Regions from separate parts of the Homo sapiens genome. Here region 2 is linked to region 1. Evidence: promoter capture Hi-C in 16 types of primary human blood cells and fetal thymus (Javierre and others, 2016). All regions are on one chromosome and are shown on one strand. The core of a region is centred on a gene start or on the middle of the fragment in contact, and the rest is flanking DNA. Distances in the headings are between cores, read along the strand shown.

Region 1 (7,218 bases), core at 4,198-6,697:
GAGCCAGGCCCCACCTGTTTTTTGTTTTCTTACGACAGAGTCTTCCTCTGTTGCTCAGGCTGGAGTGCAGTGGCGCTATCTCGGCTCACTGTAACCTCCACCTCCTGGGTTCAAGCGATTCTCCTGCCTCAGCTTCCAGGAGAGCTGAGACTACAGGTGTGTGTCATTACACTGGGCTAATTTTTTATTACTTTTTTTAAGCAGTGATGGTGTTTTGCCATGTTGGGTTTTGAGCTCCTGACCTTAGGTGACCCATCTACCTCGGCCTCCCAAAGTATTGGGAGTTTCCAAGGCTCCCTTAGTGTAAGCCAGGATTTTTTAAATACAAGGCGGCAAAGATACCACAATGTTACCACAACACAACAATGTATATCACAACCATGTATACCACTATGTATACCACAATGTTATTCACTGTAGCTGCTCCCACAGAAAAGTAGTTTACAAGACAGTGAAGTACAATATGAAACTGAAGATGTTTAGAGAGGAAACAGTGATTTAAAGAGTGCTCTGTAGAATTAAAACCAGTTAGCCCGGCACATTGGGGAACACCTCTGGTCCCAGTTACTTAGGAGGCTAAGATGGGAGGATCACTTAAACCTCGGAGTTTGAGGCCACCCCGGGAACACAATGAAACCTTGTCTCAAGAAACAAAACCAAATACCCCAAGTAGGCCGGGTGTGGTGGCTCAAGCCTGTAATCCTAGCACTTTACGAGGCTGAGGCAGACAGATCACTTGAGGTCAGGAGTTTGTGAACAGCCTTGCCAACATGGGTAAACCCTGTCTCTAAAAAAAAAAAAAAAAAAAAAAGCCAGGTATGGTGACACACACTTGTAATCCCAGCTACCCCGGATGCTGAGGCATGAGAATCCCTTAAACCCAGGAGGTGGAGGTTGCAGTGAGCTGAGATCATGCCACTGCATTCCAGCCTGGGAGACAGAACCAGATTTGGTCTCAAAAAAAAAAAAATTGGTTAATGGCATTAAAAGTCAACTAATAAAATTAGTTAAAACTATGGACTTTAATAAATGTTATCTGTTTTAGCAATTTTTTTTTTTGAGACGGAATTTCACTCTTGTTGCCCAGGCTGGAGTGCAATGGCGCGATATCAGCTCACTGCAACCTCTGCCTCCAGAGTTCAAGTGATTCTCCTGCCTCTTCCTCTGGCTCCGGAGCAGCTAGGATTACAGGCGCCCACCACTACGCCTGGCTAATTTTTTTGTATTCTTTGTAGAGATGGGGTTTCACCATGTTGGCCAGGCTGGCCTCAAACTCCTGACCTCCAGTGATCTGCCCGCCTTGGCCTCCCAAAGTGCTAGGATTACAGGTGTGCACCACCGCGCCCGGACTGTTTTAGCAAATTTGACAAAATGTGGGTAATTTATCCATATAATAGAAAATGCCTAATATTCATTAATTGAAAATTAGAAATTACATTAAAATATTCGGTACTGTTTTTTAAACTATTCTACTTTTACATATTTGGGAAGATTATTTTCTTTAACGATTCTGTTTTATATATTTTATTAATTGTGTTATCTGTTTCCTGAAATTAATATATGCTAGAAGGAAAATTACCTTTATAAATGTCAGCATCTTAAAAGTCATGTCAATATGCAGATTTTGATAACAATCGGTATAGATAAACTAATTCTAAAGTTAGGAATGGGGCCAGGCGCGGTGGCTCAGACCTGTAATCCCAGCACTTTGGGAGGCCGAGGTGGGCGGATCACTTGAGGTTAGGAGTTCGAGACCAGCCTGGCCAACATGGCAAAACCCTGTCTCTATTAAAAATGCAAAAATTAGCTGGGTGCGGTGGCGGGTGCCTGTAATCCCGGCCACTCAGGAAGCTGAGGCAGGAGCATGGCTTGAACCCGGGAAGCAGAGGTTGCAGTGAGCCAAGATGAGCCACTGCACTCTAGTCTGGGTGACAAAGTAAGACTCTGTCTCAAAAATAAATAAATAAATAAAGTCAGGAATAGGTCATGCCATGCTTTATTATATCCGTGATGCTTTATTATATCTGTGACTTTGAAAATTAACATTATTTTACTAACCATACTCAACAATGCTTTTTAAAAAGGGATTTATGACATATAATTCTTTTGGAAATTAAAATGCATGGTATAATTCTATGGTTGGTCAGATTACACTTCAGGTGTAAATGAATTACCTTAAAAATGTATTTCTTAGGTTTATGTTTTATGGACTTAATAAATATTTTATTACAATTTTTTTTTTTTTTAGACAGAATCTCACTCCGTCACCCAGGCTGGAGTGCAGTGGCACGATCTCGGCTCACTGCAACCTCCACCTCCTGGGTTCAAGTGATTCTCCTGCCTCAGCCTCCCGAGTAGCCGGGAATACAGACGCATGCCACCGCTCCTGGCTAATTTCTGTATTTTTAGTAGAGCCGTGGTTTCACCATATTGGCCAGGCTGATCTCGAACTCCTGACATTGTGATCTGCCCTCCTTGGCCTCCCAAAGTGCTGGGATTACAGGCGTAAGCCACCGCACCCAGCAGAAAAAAATCTTAAACTTACAAAAACATAGAGAGAAATATAGCAAATGCTTGTATTAGTTTTCTATGGCTGCTGTAACAAATTACTACCACTTTGGTGACCTAAAACAACCCAAATTTACTACCGTACAAGTCCTGTAGGTCAGGAGCCCACACGGGGCTCACTGGGCTAAAACTCAGGTGATGGCAGGACACCTGAGCATCTGCAGGATCATTCATTCCTTGCCTTTTCCACCTTGAGAGGCCACCTGTGGCATTCCTGGGCTTGTGGCCCCTTCCTCCATCTCCGGAGTCAGCACCAGCGGCCACATCCTTGTCAGGTTGAATCTCTCTGAACTTCCTTCCAGTGTTACGTCTCTTTCCAATTCTCATTTGCAGGTAAAGGTTCTCGGAAGGACCCAATGAGACTGGGCTCACTGGGATAATCCAGGATCATCTCCCATCTCAAGGTTCTTCATCGCATACTTGCAAAGCCCCTTTTGCCATGTCAGGTAACTTGTTCACAGGTTTGAAGATTAGAATGTGGGCATGTTTGGGGGGCATAATTAGGCCTAGCACAATGCCCATGTACCCATCTCCTTGCTTAAACATTAAACACTTTGCCAATATTGTTTCTCCTATCTCTCACTTTGTTCTCTAAAAAACTCCAGGAATTTGTTATTAAATTTTATTAAAGCAAATCCCAGAAATAATATAATTTGCCTGTAAATATGTTAATATGTTTCTCTGAGGCCTTTAAAAATCATAGCCACTATGGTATTATCGTAATAAAATTACCTGAAGTTATTTAATGTCACCTAACATTCAGTCCATGTTTAAGTTTCCCAATTTTTTTTTTTTTTTTTGAGATGGAGTCTCACTCTGTCGCCCAGGCTGGAGTGCAGTGGCGTGATCTGGGCTCACTGCAAGCTCTGCCTCCCGGGTTCACACCATTCTCCTGCCTCAACCTCCCGAGTAGCTGGGACTACAGGCACCTGCCACTACACCCGGCTAATTTTTTTTTTTTTTTTTTTTTTTTTAGTAGAGACGGGGTTTCACCGTGTTAGCCAGGATGGTCTTGATCTCCTGACCTCCTGATCTGCCCGCCTCGGCCTCCCAAAGTGCTGGCATTACAGGCAAGAACCACCGCGCCTGGCCGCCAATGTTTTTAAAAATGCCATTTATTTATGTAAAAGTTTGTTTGTCTTAATCATGACCCAAACAAGGTCCACAAATTGCATTTGGCTAATGTGTCTCTCAAGGTCCCCCCACCCTCTTTTTTTTAAAGACATGGGGGGTCTAGCTGTGTTGCCCAGCCTGGAGTGCAGTGGCTATTCACAGCTGTGATCATAGCTCACTACAGCCTTGAACTCTGGCCTTAAGCAATCCTCCCACTTCAGCCTCTGAACATTTATTTTTGAAAAAAGAAATTGGGTCATTTGGTTTGTAGAATTTCCCACATTCTGGATTTGGCAGATTACTTCCTGGTGGTGTAATCTAATGGGTTCATTTGGCCCCTGTATTTCCTTTAGCCTGTGATTAGTGTTATAAGCTTAACTGGTTCTAGTTTCCCTTTCTTTGTTAGTCAGAGAGAATACTTTAGAGGTGAGGCTGCAAACAATCCACGGTGCCATATTAGTGTGTTTATGGAATCAGGCTGTCCCAGTTTCGATTATGTCAAAGTTGTTCACCTGATCATATCTGAAGATATTACAATATTCTTAATAATAATAACCATTTACCGCATACTTATTGTATACCAGGCATTTTGCTGGCTGTGTCCTATATAATTCCTCAAACCACATCTCCGTGTATTAACCACACTCATAGATTTGTGAAAATGTACCAGAATTGACTGGTTGGAAGGCTCTATGTGGATTATTACTCTGAGCATGTTTACTTCTTGAAATATGAAATAATGGCTCCTGCTTTTAATATACAGGCTTATTTTGAGGATTTTTTGAACGGATGTGAGAGCACTTAGAAAACTGGAACGCGCCGCGCTACACCATTAAAATTAGTAACATCAGTGAGAAAAAAGCAAGTGCATAATAAATATTATAGTTATCCTGATTGTCTCCTTTATTCATCACACACTTCCTAAGCACATCTCTGGAGGGCACTTTCCAAGGCTCCGGGGGAGGAGAGGAAAGAGGCGCAGCCAGGCCTGGTGGGTCCCGGAGGGGCAGCGCGGCGCGGGAGGGGAACGGGGAGGCACGGCCTGGCTGCCACCGCGCGCGGAACCCGGGAGCGGCTCCGGGGCTGTCAGCTGCCCGCCTGGCTCCTCCAAGGCCTGGAGCTCGGACGCGGGCTCTGGGGGCTTCTGGGGCGCGGAAGCGGGCTCGCGGGGAGCAGTGGCCGCCCCCGGCCGCCGCGGTGGCTGTGCTCAGAAGCCGGCCCTGGCGTCAGGAGGCCGGGCGCGCGGCGCGGGGCGCGAGTTCCCCTGCCCGCCTGTGCGCCCCGCAACGGGCCTTTCCTGGGCCCTAACGACAGCTCGCCCGTGCTTCGCCCTCGCAGCTCTCCTGTGTCCCCAAAATGCCTTTCCCGCGTCCCCCGCCCTTCAGCGGTGACTGCCCAGGGGACTCTGTAACGCGACACTCAGACTGCCGAGCCTGCCAGGCACTTCGCGGAGGGCGCTAGGGGCCGGGACGCGGCCGCCGAGCGTAGGTTCCGGCCTTTACTCCGAGTTGCGCACGGAGCCCCAGCTGCGGTTGTCCGCTCTGGGGATCACAGGCCGCGGAGACCCGGGAGCCACCCGCCGGGCCCCTTCAGACGACCCGCTTCCGCAAACCGGCCGTGGGACTCCGGCGCCGGGCGGACGAAGCGGCTCCGGGAAGACTCGGTCTTCCCCGCCCGCCTGAGGTCGCCGGGGCGGGGCTTCAGTGACAGGCCCGCGCGCTACCGCGGAAACAGGAAGTTGGCTGGGTGCGCGCCGGCTCCGGCTGCAGTTCCCGGGTCCCTCGGCCACCGAAGCCACCCTGCCCTGGTGAAAGGGCTCCCGCACCGCCCGGTGCTCCCCATCTGCCTGGCGTTGTGCGCAGAGCTGGAAAGCATGGCTGTTGTATGTATTCTTGCGCCCGTGTGACAACATTTAAACTTCTAAAAACGGAACCTCCTTCCGTGTTAGGATTGCAAGTTAACCTAGGAAAAACAGCATTCTGCAAATTATTTGCTGGAAAATCTCGGTGACTTAAGGCCCATGTATTACTTTGCAGGGGTCTCTCACTCTAGTTTGCTGGTGTAGATTTTTTAAAAAATCCATCTTATCAAAAAATACCGTTTAAGGTGGAAAATTTCAAATGCAAGTCGCAGTTGATGAGATTGCAATTAATATATTTAAGATAGTGAATTAGAGAAAAACTACAGGTCAGTGCATATTAAGTATTTTTTTCATATTTTGGGGGGATTAGATTTTTAACGATAACTTTGAAGTTAAAAATTAAAAGATAGGCTGGGTGCCGTTGCTTAGGCCTGTAATTCCAGCACTCTGGGACGCTGAAGTGGGAGGATGGCTTGATCCCAGAGATGCGAGACCAGCCTGGGCAACATAGCAAGTCCCCCGCCCCCACCATAACAACAAAAGTACCAAAAAAAAAAAAAAAAAAAGCCAGGTGTAGTGGCACGCACCTGAAGTCCCTGCTACTCGAGAAGTTGTGGGGGAAAGGATCGCTTCAGCGCAGGAGTTTGGGGCTGCAGCGAGCTGTGACGCAGCCTGCGGTTGACAAAAAGTCAAAACTCTATAAAATATTTGAAGGGATTAATTCTGAGCCAAATATGAGTGACCATGGCTGGTGACACAGCCATTTGGAGACCCTGAGAACGCGTACGCAAGGTGGTCGGGGCCCAGTGTGGTTTTATGCATTTTAGGGGAGCCATGAGTCATCAGTCAAATACATGTAAGATTAAGATGTACATTGGTTCGGTCCATAAAGGTATGACAGCTGAGGAGGTGGGTGGGTCGGGGGTTTCCGGGTTATAGGTAGATTGAAAATTTTCTGATTGGCATTTGGTTGAAAGATTTATTATCAATGGAAAGGAATGTTTGGGTTACAATAAGAGGCTGTGGAGACTGAAGTTTTATCATGCAGATGAAGCCTCCAGGTAAGTTAAGTGTCCAGCATGTTAAATGCTGGTCTGCTTTTCCTGAATTCTAAAAGGGAGGAGGATGAAATGTGTCAAGTTCCACCCCCACTTCCCATCATGGCCTAAACAAGTTTTGCTTAAAACAACCTAAAACAAGGTTAACTCTGGAATGCCCTTGGTGGGGTCCATGCAGATGGTTGAGGGGTCTTAGGATTTCATTTTTGATTTACAATGGGCGGTGGAGTGAGACCCTATCTCTAAAAATAAATAAATAAATAAATACAAATTGAAAAGTTCAAAGATAAATTTTTTTTTTTTTTTTTTGAGACGGAGTTTCGCTCTTGTTGCCCAGGCTGGAGTGCAATGGCGCGATCTCGGCTCACTACAACCTCCGCCTCCCGCATTCAAGCGATTCTCCTGCCTCAGCCTCCCGAGTAGCTGGGATTACAGGCATGTGCCACTACCCTGGCTGATTTTGTATTTTTAGTAGAGACGGGGTTTCTCCATGTTGGTCAGGCTGGTCTTGAACTCCCGACCTCAGGTGATCACCCACCTCGGCCTCTCAAAGTGCTGGGATTACAGGCATGAGCCACTGCGCCCAGCCTAAAGATAAAATATTTGGCTCCCAATTAT
Region 2 (7,218 bases), core at 3,724-6,223, 2.8 Mb after region 1:
ATGGGAAAGCAAAACATTTGTAATTTAACCAAATTTTTACTTCACAGTAACCTGATCTTGATAAAAGCGATCTGGAAATTGAAAATGGGTGACACTAGAGTAACTGTTAACTAGATTATATAATGATGTCTTCACAGCCATAGATAGAAGACTTTAAAATGGTCCTCTGTCATTATGACATAATACTTAGAGCTGCAAGTTGCTACGGTTAGCATGAGGATGTACACAGAGCAGAATAAACAAATAAGTTTACGTAGATTGGAAGTCCATATTTTATTTCTCTAGTGACATATTTACAGTTCAATATAAATTAAAGGCCTGCTTGTACACCAAATCCAGGTCCCTTGGGTGGTTCAGTCAAAGAGGTAAGACCTCCAGCTGGCTCACAAGAGAAGCGTCCACTCCTGAAATGAAAAGTAATATTAAACTATTAATGATTAACATTTGTAAATTTTTACTTAAATTGTAATGGTTACCTCACAAGAGCCCAGTTAAGTAACTATTTTTACCCTAAGAACTAGCATAGATTATTTAATTCAAACATTTCAACTGATGCAAGATTTTCTCTTCCTAAATTTAAATATGGAAAAACATCAGACTTCACCATAAACATAAAAAATACAAAAGTAGCCCTAATAATAGTTCCTATTTACTGAGCAGTATGCATACACTAGCTCATTGAATCCTTACGATGCCACAAGACAAGTGATACTGGCTTTATTTTACAGTTAGAGAAACCAAATTTGGGAGATTCAGCATCTACCCAAGAATCAAAGCAAAGAACTACGGCAAAAATACCCAACCCCAGAGAACATTTTTAAAAACCATGTTTTAATAAACTAGAGCACTGTATTTCTTTTTAGAGTTGAATTTTATTTAGATCAAGATCCACAGTCACAGTGAATAGAGGGAATACACACACTTATACATTGTATTTGGAAATAGAAACTGGATTCCTTGAGGAAATATGATTTGGGACAATGTCCCTTAGAAGCAGCGAAGTCAAAATCAGTTTGTATTTATGTATTATAAAGACTATATTAGTAGTAGTAATTTTCTGAAAAAAGTTTCCAAACCAGGATGGCCATAGCAGCCACAAAAGGAAGCAAACAAGAACAAGTCCTGATGGAGCAATTTATGAAGACAGGCAGCATAGAGGGAGAAGAACCTGTCTGTCAACCCCACACACGCTTTCCCAGGTAATTGCTCACCTCTGCCCTGTCTGACCTCTGTTTCTAGAGCCCAGCTCAGACTTACTGTATGTCACCCCTCCACCACTATTCCCTGGCTTTGCTAATTTACCTGTTCCTGCCACAGATTTACCTAAAGAAAGAACTTGTTCAGTTTATATCTTTTCAACCCCCTCTGGCTTTGCCCTTCACATTGTGTCATCAATCCTTTAAGTCTGTTCTTTAGAGCCCTAGGGAATCATTTTTTATTGGAGCCAGGAAAGTGACACCACATAATATAAGATCTTTCAAGATGTCACAGCATATAATACAAGTTACTAAGTAATGAACAATTATCTACAAAGTCAGAACTTAGTTAATATCTTTGGATTATAGGTCTTGTTCACTACAAAAACAGATAAAAAAGCAGTCATTGTATACTGTAAGAGCCTGAAACTTGTAGAGTAAGCAGCAAAATGATACTTAACTTTAAAAAAAAGACAACAGTATTATATTTTGCAATTTTTAAATTTATTTATTATTTTTGAGACAGGGTCCCACTTTGTCACCCAGGCTGGGATGCAGTGATGCAATAATGGCTCACTGCAGTCTTAACCTCCCAGGCTCAGGTGCTTCTGTCACCTCAGCCTCCCACGTAGCTGGGACTACAGGTGTGCGTCACCATGCCTGGCTAATTTTTGTATTTTTCGTAGAGACAAGACCTCACCATGTTGCCCTGGCTGGTCTTGAATTTGTGGGCTCAAACAATCTGTCCGCCTCAACCTCCCAAAGTGCTGGGATTACAGGTGAGCCACTGTGCCCGGCCTGTAATTTTTTATGTTGCCTATTGATAGGCACCACTGCTGCTCTTTAAATGTCAATGAAATTATTTTGGAGAAACTTTCTTCACCTTTACTAGGTTTCTTCTTACGGTTTAAGCTCAGCTACCTCTTCTTTTCTGCCTAAAACTTTTCTCTTGATCAAATATCAGAATGGAATATGATTTAAAAGTTTCATTTTAGACGTCTCCTGAAAGCTGAGCATTTGTTATCTTAAAGCCTCTTACCAGTTTGGATAGATATGGATCTTCCAAAATTAATGAGCTCCTTAATATCGACACTGTTTATCAACATAAAGGATCAATTTAGGAAGATTATAAAAACTGAAGTTTCCGGAACAATAAATGGGAGAATTAATCGTAAGTACTTCCTGAGTTCTTCACAGGATTATAGAATTTTATATATGGAAGTAATTTTAAAAATAATCTGGTCTAGAGTTTCCTAAAGTTTGTTCCATAAAATTACAATCCCATGGCATTGTATAGAAAAACGGGAGTCCCAGTGATCCAGTATGTCTGGCTGTAAACCTCCCTTCCTCGCCATTCACACAGTGTACCTTAAAATACTACAAAGGCTACAAAAATCCTCCAATAAAGCCTATAATTTTGTTTAATCTACTAAAAATGTAACCCCCCCTTTCATCTGTAAACATGCCTCAGAACACTCAAGAGGCAGTGAGCTAGCCCTATCCACTCACCTGACAGCCACAATTTACACTAGTGTTTTTCACTTACTAAACAAAAAATGATTTTCCTGATATCTCATGCTTAAAATGCCATCTAATAATTACATCTTCACTAAAATTTAAAAAGTATGGTTCGTCAGTCATTCCAACACTATACGTATGTGTACCATTTTAACTTATTTGCTTTCTAGAAAACTTGGCCTTTCTGTAAACTTTCATGGCTTAAAGTACTTTACATAGACAAATTACTTTATAAAAGTTTAGTGCTTTTTACTATTGCTGAGATATATCCAGCACTGTCCCTACTTTTAGTATAAAAAACCAAAAGTGATGTTATTGTCTAGAGTCATCTACCAACCGCATTGGAACTGTAGCCTAGCTCTAAATATGAAGAATTAAAGTTGGATTTAAAATGAGTTATAAACTAATCCATACTAAAAAATTTCTACCTATTAGTAACCTGAAAACAAGTTTAGAATTTTTCAGTACTTTAAATTCACTGAAAATAAGAACAATCTCAGCACAAAAATATTTAGTAATGTCAAGATTAAGAGACTACAGCTGACCCTGAACAACACAGGTTTGAACTGCATGGGTTCACTTGTACATGGATTTTCTTCAGCCTCTGCCACCTCTGAGACAGCAAGGCCAACCCCTCCTCTTCCTCAGCCTATACAACATGAAAATGATAAGACTTGTACTATGATCCACTTAATGAAGAGTAAATATATTTTCATTATGATTTTAATAACATTTTCTTTTCTCTAGATTATGGTAAGAATACAGTCAGTATATAATACAGACAACATGCAAAATATGTGCTGACTATGTTATTTGTTAAGGCCTTCAGACAACTGCAGGCTATGAGTAAAGTTTTGGAGGAGTCAAAAGTTACACACAGATCTTCAACTGCATGAGCAATCAATGTCCCTAACGCCCATGGTGTTCAAGAGTCAACTGTATTATCTTACCACTGCTTTAATATTTTCAGTGGTCATTCACCAACGATAATACAAAAGCAGTTTTGAACCACATATAGACATCAGTCTTTTACTAATTTTGGCCAGGGTAAGACCTGGCAGTGGTACTCAGGAATCAGTTACTATTGAACCAGTTTAATTCCTCTCGGTTTTTCATTACAGAGACGCACAATTAGTACCTCTTTCAAAGAGCAGAGATATTTATTATTAAAATACCAATAAAAAAGAATTAGACAGCTTTGGTTAATTTAGAATAACTATAACTATATTATGGTTATTGCTATCCCAGTCTCTGTCATTATCCTATATATCCAAGATATTGGGTAAGTAAAGTGAAAAGTTCTTGTTTTCATATGCTGACAAGACATTCTAGTATTGCTATGTCCAAATACAAGCTTTATATAATACAGCATTGGTGGATGCTTGCAATTATTGAAACCTAAGTAGACTTTTGTCTGCTTTTTAAATAAGAGGTAGTAAGTAAAAAAAGAGATTCGGACACGAATAATTTTGAAGTATTTGGCTCAAATCCAGAACACTGTCAAGAAAATCTCAGCGAAAAACTATTCATGATTACTGATAAGTAACATCCCTATTATTATCAGATGTTGTTGAAAATGCTTAACTGAGTACTTAGTTCCTGCTTATTGTTAAAATACAATGTTATAGTACCTCATATTACAAATAACAGATTTTAATTTCACCCCGATAATGTCATCCAGATTTATAACTTTAAATACTACCCTTAGTAACTGATGAATCCCCAATTTGTGTTTCCAGCCCTAACCTATTCCCTATATTCCAGGTTCGTATCTACCTATCAGCATCATACCATGGATGTCTTAACAGGCATCTCAAACTTACTATGTCTAAAACAAAATTTGACTTTTCTTCCCCAAACTTGCCCTACCACAAATCTTCTCTATTTTCGGTAAAGGAACCTCAGAGATGCTCAAGCCAAAAAGCTGAAAATCACTCATAAATCCTTAGTCCCACATATCTACTAAATTCTAATCTCCACATAGCAACTATGGCAGTATTTTAAGATTGCTCATTCCATTCCCTACTGAAAACATTCCAACAGTTTTTATTATATTTAAGATTCAGCCCAGATTACTTATCTGGGCCCTTATCTCCTCTGACCCCTTCCACTGCTTTCTTGCTTGAGCACCTCACTGCAGCCATACTGTTACCTTACTTTTCTTCCAGGACCCTGATACATCCTCTTTCCCCTCCCTGGAACATTGTTCCTTCAGCTCTTTACATGGTTCCCTCTAGCTCTTCATTCAGGTCATGGCTCAAATGTTACCACCTCTAAGCGGCCTCTCCTCACTAAATTTACTCCCTATCTATCCCCTAACACCTGCTACATTTTATTGTGTAGCCTTTTTATCACTCACATATTACACTAGTCATCTGTCTCCATCACTAGAAGATATATGAGAACTTTATCTTGTTCATAATTGTATTCATAACCTAAAATAATGCCTGACACACAGCAGGCACTCAAAAAAATTTGTGAAAAAAATTACTGTTGAGTATTTAATGTAATGTGACATAACAAAGTAGACAAAGCAGGTATCAATTTGTGTGGCAGGAGAGTAATACTAGATTAATATGAACCATAGATCCCACAGTTCACAAGAAGCAAAGCAGAAGATTCTAAACGCCAAAGTGGCCGGGCGTGGTGGCTCAAGCCTGTAATCCCAGCACTTTGGGAGGCCAAGGCAGGCAGATCACTTGAGGTCAGGAGTTCGAGACCACCCTGGCCAACATGGTAAAACCCCGTCTCTACTAAAAATACAAAAATTAGCTGGGCATGGTGGTGGCACGTTCTTATAGTCCCAGCTGCTCGGGAGACTGAGGCAGGAGAATCGCTTGAGCCTGGGAGGCAGAAGTTGCAGTGAGTCGAGATCACACCACTGCACTATAGCCTAAGTGACAGAGCAAGACTCCATCTCGGGTGAGGGGAGGAGTGGGGGGGAGGAAGCCCAACACCAAAGTTATGACTATAGAATTCAAAACATCTAATCAGAAGAGAGGGGCCATCTAAAGAACCCAAGTGGATTTCACAAGGAAATCTGCACTTGAGATATTCTTTAGAGTACCCAAAAGGTGAAAGAAGTTATGGGCTGAAGTACAAACCTAAGAATAGCATGAATTTATTTTAAAATACCTGAATCCTAAAAAGCAGATGAAGCTTGTGGAAAATATTATGAAATTTGTACTTTTTGGGGGGACAGTGTCTATTTAAAGCAAGAATAAGTAAGGGATAGGAGCACTAGCTAAGAAAGATACTGTAATGATAGATGACTAAAGGTTTTACTTCAGTTGCCTCCATAAAGGAGAATGATTTTTCACCAGGGAAATGATTTACCTCCTAAAAAAAGGGGTATACCCAAGAAAGTGAGGAATTAGGAAGAAAATGCCAACACTCTTTAAGCAAATTCAATTCTATAGGCTCAGGTTGTTAAGAACAGTATACGTTTCTTAGAAAAGAAAGTAATGGTCAACAGGGGCCAGCTAGCATTTACTAAACTTAAGTTATCCTGAACTGACCTCATTTTCTCATTAAGTAGGGTATTATTAGTAGTTTTAGAGAGCAAACTCTAGAACCACTCATACCCTCTTAGTAATTCTACTTCAGGGAATTGTTATTTATAATAAAGCTTAAGAAAAATATTTTAAAACGGGAGTAAGAGCACATCACAGCTGTTTTAAAACATTAGAATACCGTATGGACATCAAAAACTCCAAATGTGCTGAGGGAAGAAAAAATTTATATACATAAACAAAAAATTTGAGGGATTATGACTAAAACCATGAGAACATTTGCTAGTATTAAGAGAGAATTTTGAGTGATTGAACACATACATGGAATAAGGGTTTGTTTAAAAGTGAAAATCCAAGTTCATAACTGAAAGGAAAGTAATTAATGTAACACAGGTATGGGACGGGAGCAACCTGGATAAATAGTGAACAGAAAAAGATCTAGGTATTATGAAGTGCAGTTAATTGTGTAATGTCTCTGAAGTAGGAGTTGATATAATTAGGCACAATTATTACAAGCATAATGTCTGGAACAAAGGAGGCAGTCCCACAATGCTCTGTGCTGCTCAGTATGTATCTCAAAATACCATGATTAGGCCGGGCACAGTGGCTCATGCCTGTAATCCCAGCACTTTGGGAGTCTGAAGCGGGCAGATCACGAGGTCAGGAGATCGGAGACCATCCTGGCTAATACAGTGAAACCCCGTCACTACTAAAAATACAAAAAATTAGCCGGGCGTGGTGGCTGGCACCTGTAATCCCAGCTACTCGGGAGGCTGAGACAGGGGAATCACTTCTACCTGGGAGGTGGAGCTTGCACTGAGCTGAGATTGTGCCACTGCGCCACTGTACTCCAGACTGGGTGACGGAGTGAGACTCCGTCTCAAAATATAAATAAATAAAAAAGACAAAAAACCATGATTAGTTTAAGCATCACATTAAAGCATTAAATAGTCACTAGCCAACTAGAAAACCCACAGAGGGAGACCAAAGCT

The links. The method cuts DNA at HindIII sites, captures the fragments that hold promoters and counts their contacts. A CHiCAGO score of 5 or more calls a contact.
Region 2: a fragment that was not itself captured here is called in contact with the fragment with the promoter of MPPE1 in region 1 in 1 of 17 cell types (neutrophils); the score reaches 6.2 in neutrophils.

Annotation. Positions count from the first base shown.
Region 1 is chr18:11,906,546-11,913,763 of GRCh38, reverse strand. MPPE1 (metallophosphoesterase 1) reads left to right here and starts at 5,447. Exons shown (of 11, transcript NM_023075.6): 1 at 5,447-5,563. It overlaps LOC101927511 (a long non-coding RNA gene), which reads left to right. Exons shown (of 4, transcript XR_007066296.1): 4 at 2,902-3,215. RefSeq lists a silencer at 4,655-5,054. The HindIII fragment of the contact is 5,797 bases long and covers 4,057-7,218 here.
Region 2 is chr18:9,127,372-9,134,589 of GRCh38, reverse strand. It overlaps NDUFV2 (NADH:ubiquinone oxidoreductase core subunit V2), which reads right to left. Exons shown (of 8, transcript NM_021074.5): 8 at 249-404. The coding sequence ends at 311. It overlaps NDUFV2-AS1 (NDUFV2 antisense RNA 1), which reads left to right. Exons shown (of 3, transcript NR_110772.1): 2 at 1,080-1,199. Among named protein-coding and RNA genes, the nearest start is that of NDUFV2-AS1, 5.7 kb to the left of the region's middle. The HindIII fragment of the contact is 1,805 bases long and covers 4,071-5,875 here.